Regions from separate parts of the Homo sapiens genome. Here regions 2 and 3 are each linked to region 1. Evidence: promoter capture Hi-C in human tissues and cell types (Jung and others, 2019). All regions are on one chromosome and are shown on one strand. The core of a region is centred on a gene start or on the middle of the fragment in contact, and the rest is flanking DNA. Distances in the headings are between cores, read along the strand shown.

The links. The method cuts DNA at HindIII sites, captures the fragments that hold promoters and counts their contacts. A contact is called where the count stands out against the background at its distance.
Region 2: a fragment that was not itself captured here is called in contact with the fragment with the promoter of ITGBL1 in region 1 in 3 of the 25 tissues and cell types used here (H1 embryonic stem cells, dorsolateral prefrontal cortex and hippocampus).
Region 3: a fragment that was not itself captured here is called in contact with the fragment with the promoter of ITGBL1 in region 1 in 2 of the 25 tissues and cell types used here (hippocampus and pancreas).

Annotation. Positions count from the first base shown.
Region 1 is chr13:101,451,271-101,453,998 of GRCh38, forward strand. It overlaps ITGBL1 (integrin subunit beta like 1), which reads left to right and starts at 1,405. Exons shown (of 11, transcript NM_004791.3): 1 at 1,405-1,661; 2 at 2,613-2,728. The coding sequence starts at 1,564. RefSeq lists an enhancer at 983-1,487. The HindIII fragment of the contact is 7,410 bases long and covers 1-2,728 here.
Region 2 is chr13:101,338,903-101,341,630 of GRCh38, forward strand. All of the region lies in intron 7 of NALCN (sodium leak channel, non-selective), which reads right to left. Among named protein-coding and RNA genes, the nearest start is that of NALCN, 76 kb to the right of the region's middle. The HindIII fragment of the contact is 5,110 bases long and covers 1-2,728 here.
Region 3 is chr13:101,356,934-101,359,661 of GRCh38, forward strand. All of the region lies in intron 6 of NALCN (sodium leak channel, non-selective), which reads right to left. Among named protein-coding and RNA genes, the nearest start is that of NALCN, 58 kb to the right of the region's middle. The HindIII fragment of the contact is 6,642 bases long and covers 1-2,728 here.

The sequences.
Region 1 (2,728 bases), core at 155-2,654:
GATTAGAGGACCTTCATCGTCTTCTTGCTCCAGCAGGCTAGTGTTGTGGTGGTCTTACCCTTATACCTACTTATATATAAAGGACAGGGAGAAATCCCATCCTATTATGGCTCATCCCTGATTTTAAGGATCTGGGACCACAGATGATTCTTGGATGGTTCTATTTCATGAGGAAGGATTGCATGTACAGTGCTCTTCTTAGGGTGAATGAAAAATGTTTTCCCCCTTCCATATAACCCTCTACACATTTTCCCAGATGACCATAAATGTAGGGGATAGTGTATGCACTTTGGATTTCAGCTGAAATACGACTAACTTCCTCTGTGAATTTGAGCAAGTCAGTTGACCTCTTTGCCCTCAGTTTCTTTATCTTTAAAATGGGAGTAAGAATGTCTCCCTGTTCTCTTCCATCTCCTTCTTATTTCTACCCAATTTAATTCAATACTTTTTTCAGTTTTTTGTTCAGATGCTACCATCTTTGATTAGATCAAGTGCCTGTATCTCATCTGGAAGTAACTTCTCACTGCACTTGCAACCCTTTGTTCTTTTTTTTTGTGGTTTTGTGTTGATTAATGTCTTTCTAGCTCATTGGACTCTGAGAGAGCAGGGATCATGTCTCCTTAGTTCTCTGTTATATTCATTCTGTCTTGCACAAAACCTGGCACCTGATAGATGCTAAATCCCCATTTGCTAATGCATAAATAAATGTGTGATTATTGTCATAATTAGAGAAAACATACTAAATGACTGGCACATAGTAGGTGCTTAGTAAATGACACCAATTGTTTTTCAGTGCAATTTGTGCTATAAATAAACATTTAATTTTCTTTTCTCACATTTGATATATGGGGAGAATGGGGTGAATTTGAGACAACTACAATTTAAACTGTCCAAGTCACCAACAAATTGTGGTGTGATAAGCTACTGGCCTAAACAGCTGGAAGCATGACACGCTTTTTAAAGACTAAAGAAATGAAATATCCAGTTTAAATCAAAGGATAATAAATGCAAGAAAAAGTTGTGTTTGTCAGATTTCCTTGCCCCGGCCCCAACCCAAACTCCAAAGAGTGCATCTACTTTAAAAGCGTGTGGTGAAAGTAATTCCCTACCCAAGTGTTCCCACTACTGTCACTGGCCTCACCCTTCTCCACAACTCAGGGATTATTTTAAAGGTTTCTTTAATATCGGCCAGTCCAAATATTCTCTTGTCAAATATTTCTGTGGCCCGTACTTGAAATCTGTGAACAGGACACTTTTTTTTTTTTTAATGTCAAAATAAACCATCTGCTTGTACAACTGTTTCTAATTACTTCCCTGCCTAGACTCTCCACTGAGGGGTTTGGCACCAGCACCCCGCCCAGAGCAGTGCCGCTGCCCAAATCCTCGCAGGCAGCTCATCAACGCAATTGCAACTCCGGCTGGAGCCCCGGACCTGCAAGCCTGGGTGTCCGTGGGTCCGTCTGCCCAGCCATCTGCTGGTGGCACCTCTCCCTCCTGCCGCCTCCCTCGGTGAACCCCACCTTGCAGAAGTGCAGCTCGCCCGGAGCAGCCCAGGAGCTCAGCATGCGTCCCCCAGGCTTCAGGAACTTCTTGCTGCTGGCGTCCTCCCTTCTCTTTGCTGGGTTGTCAGCTGTTCCTCAAAGCTTCTCGCCATCTCTGAGGTAAGTTTGGTTTGTTATTCTTCAGTACAGACCTGCCCTGCTTATGTGGCAGGGCTCAAGCTTGCAGGATGGCTGCCCTAAGCCAAGAGCTGTTATTAAATTGGACAAGGGATAAACTGTTTTCAACCTGTTCCTTTTCCTCTCCTTATATCTACAGCGTGTATTGCCTCATGTCTGTCCTTTTGCTTTTCCTTTGGAAAAATGCAATCATTGAATAAAAATATAATTTTCTTTTCTGCAAATACATATCAGGAGGAATTCCTGCTGTGAGTTAAAATGCTATGTGTACCAGTATCTTCTCACAACATGTAAAGCAGAATGATCTGTTTCCCAAGGGCAGCAACAGGAGGTCTGTGTTACATTTTGTATCATCCTGAAAGAGACTGAGTGAGGCACACTGCAATAGTGAAACTAAACTTTTTAAAAGTAGAGTTCCTAAAGACTGCTTAATGCAAATTATGCCCGATGCTATCATAGCATGTCTAACTCTTTCTATAGATTCACGTTTTCTCTTCTGTAATATAAGTGCCCATTGGCCATCAGATAGCAGTGGGACGTTTTTTAAAGGAGAACTGAAAAGTCAGCTGAGTGCCGTACCTTGGATTACTTTGTATTTAATCTAAATGTGCATATAAGATTTAGTGATAAACTACCAAAGAGCAGGGCAGTTCACCTCTGTCCACCTGGAGGAAGGACCTGTGTCCGGGGGCAGGTCACCCATTACACATTTTGGGCCCTGGTCATTTCTCTGGTGGGTGATACCTGTTTGCTTGGGAAAATACAGCCCTTCCAGGCAGCGCTTGGACCCCAGAGAGATGTGGGCCTCAGGCGTCCTGTTCTTGGGGTTGTACGTCTGCACCTGGAGGGGACACTGGGGAGGAAACGTGGGTTCGGAGCAGGGGGCGGCGTCCGCGTCTGACCCGGCCTGCCGGTTGCTTGTCGCCCGCGCAGGAGCTGGCCGGGCGCCGCCTGCAGGCTGTCCCGGGCCGAGTCGGAGCGACGCTGCCGCGCACCTGGGCAGCCCCCGGGGGCCGCGCTGTGCCACGGCCGGGGCCGCTGCGACTGCG
Region 2 (2,728 bases), core at 117-2,616, 110 kb before region 1:
CGGAGTTCTCTGTAATTCTAATCCCACTCACTCTGACTCTCAGATCCCCACCTGTGTGGGTAAAATGTATGACTGCATTATCTGTTCCAGCTCTAAACTTCTGTAATTTCATTTCCAGTGTTATTACAGAAAATCACAGTGTCGCCTCTTTTATGTCTCAGCTTTTATGTCTCATATGTTTATGAGCAAGTGGGAACAGCGGAAGTAGGAACTGAAAGTGGGGTAAGTATTCAGAAAAGGGAAGACACATTTTCTAAATAGGGTAAGTTGCTGTGATTTTGTGTCACTTCGACAGTGTGGCTTTTAGGATGTTGTCAATCCCCAAACCTTACCACTGTATGATTCCTACCCACCTTGCCACCCATACTGCAATCACGGAATCTCAATGTCTGCTAAATAAATTTTGCGATTTTGCAAGATGTCCTTTAGATTATGTCTACTACTCAGGAAGCTTGCAACATGGGGAGTGTGTGATATCTTGAGTGCACGGGCTAATGTCTTAGCAGGGATGAGTCAGTTGGGGGTCCTTAGGAAGGAGCCACAGGAAAGCTATCCAGAAATAAAGATGGAAAGGTGCATAAATGGAAGAAAGAGACAGAAATAACTAGTATCTCAGTTGTCACGTGGCTCAGGGAATTAGAGGAGGTCGGAAAATAAATCACTTAGTGCTGGAGCCCCTGCACATCACAGCATGGCTGTGCCTTCTGCTCAATGCCCCAGCTGGTGCTTTACTTAGGCTCTGTGGAAGGAGCACCTGTTGAAAGGCGCTGAAAGGGAGAGGCTCCAATCCAGGGGTCACAGATTCGAATGTATATGGATAAATAAATAAAATTAAACATATGCATGATGCTTCATCAAACTAGAAAATTCAATGACACGGGCTAAATGTTGATCAGATTCTAGAGAGATTGGTACAAGCACAGAAGTCAGGACATTTGTGAGAGGGGAGGGGAATAATTGATGAATAAAGACCAAACATCACCAAAAACTTGCCTTCTAGAATGCTAGTCATTGATTGGAATAAAATGAAATGGGAGATATGAGTTAACATAGGCAAGATGCAAGGTTAAGAACACCGTGCCCCGGCGGGTACAGTGGCTCACGCCTGTAATCCCAGCACTTTTGGAGGCCGAGGCGGGTGGATCACGAGGTCAGGAGATCGAGACCCTCCTGGCTAACACGGTGAAACTCCGTCTCTACTAAAAATACAAAAAAATTAGCCAGGCATGGTGATGGGCGCCTGTAGTCCCAGCTAACTGGGAGGCAGAGGCAGGAGAATTGCTTGAACCCAGGAGGCAAAGTTTGCAGTGAGCCAAAATTGTGCCACTGCACTCCAGCTTGGGCGACAGACCGAGACTCCATCTCAAACAAACAAACAAACAAAAAACACCGTGCCCCTGCCCCAATGCCTCTCCCTTGAATAAGATACTGGAAAACCTGCATAGTTAATGTCTGTAAACAAAGGGAATCATATCAGATGCAGTGTGTGAGTGTGAAAATATCTATGTCCTGCCCTCCCTTATTATTACACCATTTTCCCTCAAATAACACAGAGATACATTCATATTTTGCCCGTGCATCCCAATTTCTAGTTCATTCTGCGTTTGTTCTACGCTACACGTACTCTAAGTGTAGTTTCTCAGTTGCTCTTTACATTAACTGTATAAGGTAGGTCTATCACTTACCCCATTTCCTAGATGGGGAAATTGAGGCAAGAGAGTTAATTACTTTCCTAAGGCTGTCACACTAATATAAAGTGGAGTCATGATCTAAACCCCAGGGCCATTCTTTTGAACAACTGTGCTTCAAGCAAACTTTACCACAAAGGAGTCATGTGCCCCTAATAATTTTAAACATGCTACAGCAAATAGCATAACTCTATTCAGAGGTTAAAAAATATACTGTTTGTTACTTTTCTTTTGAGAACTATTATCAAGATTTAGAAAGAATTGATTCCAATATTATTACTCATATTGAAATGATTTTTTGGGACGTGGTCATAGATAATATTATTTGGATTTTTGAGTTATTTCTAAAGAAAGTAATTTCTGAGTTTATCATGCATTCTCATCTCATGACAAGTATGCACATATCTCTATTATACATTTCATATATTGTATAAATGTTACTTTTTTAACTGCTAAAATGTGAATGTTAAGAATATCAACATAATCACACTATCTCCCCCGGTTTTCATCTTATCTCTTCTAGATATTCATAATTTATAATATTTACATTGTATTTTGTAAATCCTACAGTTACATTAGCTTTGTTCTTAAAACAAATAGATACTAGAGACTAGCTCATGATAAGAAATTCTTGATTGACTGAATGTTTTCAAGAAGATTTCATGCAAAATATAGTCTCTATGTTCCTGCCTCTTCAAAAATATTCAGAAAGAGCTTGACCCATTCTTTCCCTAAAGAATTTGTAAGCATTGTGCCATTACATTCTAGAGTTCCATATTGACATGAAGTTTCAGGCCTCTCTGATGTACCTCCTTATAGCTAACTTGACCTTATTTTTTCTGGATGCCTAATGAATGTTTTCTTTAGCTTTGATTTCCAACAATTTTACTAAGATGTGTCTCAGTGTTGACTGTTCTATGTTCACTTACTGAGAAAAGCTGCATCCTTCGAATCTGTAATTCAGTGCTCTGTTTCCTACTAAGCTTTTATGAGTTATATATCATGATTTTTTTTCAGTTTTAAAAGTACCTCAAAGTACA
Region 3 (2,728 bases), core at 118-2,617, 94 kb before region 1:
AAGCCACATGATTCTCAATAGATGCAGAAAAGGCCTTTGATAAAATTCAACAACTCTTCATGTTAAAAGCTTTCAATAAACTAGGTATTGATGGAACATATCTCAAAATAATAAGTGCTATTTGTGACAAACCCACAGCCAGTATCATACTGAATGGGAAAAAGCTGGAAGCATTCTTTTTGAAAACTGGCACAAGACAAGGATGCCCTCTCTCACCACTCCTATTCAACATAGTATTGGATGTTCTGGCCAGAGCAATCAGTCAAGAGAAAGAAATAAAGGGTATTTAAATAGGAAGAGAGGAAGTGAAATTTTCTGTTTCCAGATGTCGTGATTCTATAGTTAGAAAACCCCATCATCTCAGCCCGAAAACTCCTTAACCTGATAAGCAACTTCAGCAAATCTCAGGATACAAAATGGATGTGCAAAAATCACAAGTATTCCTATACACCAAAAATACACAAGCAGAGAGCCAAATCATGAATGAACTCCCATTCACAATTGCTACAAAGAGAATAAAATACTTAGGAATACAACTTACAAAGGACGTGAAGGACCTCTTCAAGGAGAACTACAAATCACTGCTCAAGGAAATAAGAGACGACACAAACAAATGGAAAAACATTCCATCCTCATGGATAGGAAGAATCAATATCATGAAAATGGCCATACTGCCCAAAATAAATTATAGATTCAATGCTATTCCCATCAAACTACCATTGACATTCTTCACAGAATTAGAAAAAAACTACCCTAAATTTCATATGGAACCAAAAAAGAGCCTGTATAACCAAGACAATCCTTAGGAAAAAGAACAAAGCTGGAGGCATCATGCTACCTGACTTCAAACTATACTACAAGGCTAGAGTAACCAAAACAGCATGGCACTGGTACCAAAACAGCCATATAGACCAATGGAACAGAACAGAGACCTCAGAAATCACATCACGCATCTACAACCATCTGATCTTTGACAAACCTGACAAAAACAAGCAGTGGGGAAAGGATTCCCTATTTAATAAATGGTGCTGAGAAAACTTGCTAGCCATGTGCAGAAAACTAAAACTGGACCCCTTATACCTTAGACAAAAATTAAATCGAGATGGATTAAAGACTTAAATGTTAAACCCATAACCATAAAAACCCTAGAAGAAAACTTAGGCAATACTATTCAGGACATAGACATGGACAGTGATTTCATGATGAAAATGCTAAAAGCAATGGCAAGAAAAGCCAAAACAGACAAATGGGATCTAATTAAACTAGAAGTACTAAAGAGCTTATGCACAGCAAAAGAAACTATCATCAGAGTGAACAGGCAACCTACAGAATAGAATAGGAGAAAATTTTTGCAATCTACCCATCTGACAAAGGTCTAATATCCACAACCTATAAGAAATGTAAACAAATTTGCAAGAAAAAAAGAAACAACCCCATCAAAAAGTGAACAAAGGATATGAACAGACTCTTCTCAAAAGAAGATATTTATGCAGCCAAAAAACATGAAAAAAAGCTCAACACCACTGATCACTAGGGAAATGCAAACCAAAACCACAATGCAGTACCATTTCACACCAGTCAGAACGGCGATTATTAAAAAGTCAAGAAACAATAAATGCTGGCGAGGATGTGGAGAAATAGGAACGCTTTTACACTGTTGGTAGGAATGTAAATTAGTTCAACCACTGTGGAAGACAATGTGATGATTCATCAAGGATCTAGAACCAGAAATAAAATTTGACACAGCAATCCCATTACTGGGTATACACCCAAAAGAATAGACATCATTCTACTATAAAGATACATGTACACGTATGTTTCTTGCAACACTATTTACAATAGCAAAGACACGGAACCACCCAAATACCCATCAAGGATAGACTGGACTAAGAAAATGTGGGACATATACACCATGGAATACTATGCAGCCATAAAAAGAAATGAGATCATATCCTTTGCAGGGACATGGATGAAGCTGGAAGCCATCACCTTCAGCAAACGTAACACAGGATCAGAAAACCAAACAGCGCATGTTCTCACTCATAAGTGGGAGTTGAACAATGAGAACATACAACACATACTGGGGTCTGTCGCGGGGTGAGGGGCAGGGGGAGGGAGAGCATTAGGACAAATAGCTAATGCATGCGGGGCTGAAAACATAGATGATGGGTTGACAGGTGCAGCAAACCACCATGGCACATGTATACCTAGGTAGCAAACCTGCACATTCTGCCCATGTATCCCACAACTTAAAGTAAAAATTTTTTAAAAAGCAAACAAGTGAATAAATGGATACAAAGCAGGAAAAAAAGTAGAAAATACTTATTTAACAGGATGGCATTTATTACCCAGAAAGTTCTGAAAAAAATTATTAGGAGATGCTTGCTCCCTAGGGTGCTAAAGACTACTTAAAATCAACATTACAAATTACAGAACATGAAAGATACGTGTATCTTGAGCTTCGCATAAAACTGATGTCTCTTTATGGTTAAATTTAGACTATAATGTACTTTTGAGGGGGCAATATCACAGCAGTGATGCTGCGTCCTTCTGTGTGCATCAGCACATCATAAAAATTTGTCCTAGTGCAGTTAATGTTTATGATTCACTTGGTTAAAGAGCTCTCTGACAGACTGTCGCACTACAGAGTTAATTATTTTTCTCTTAATTATTAGGTATCTTTATGCAGCTGATGTGCATAAACCATCACATTTAATCTGGCAGCTGC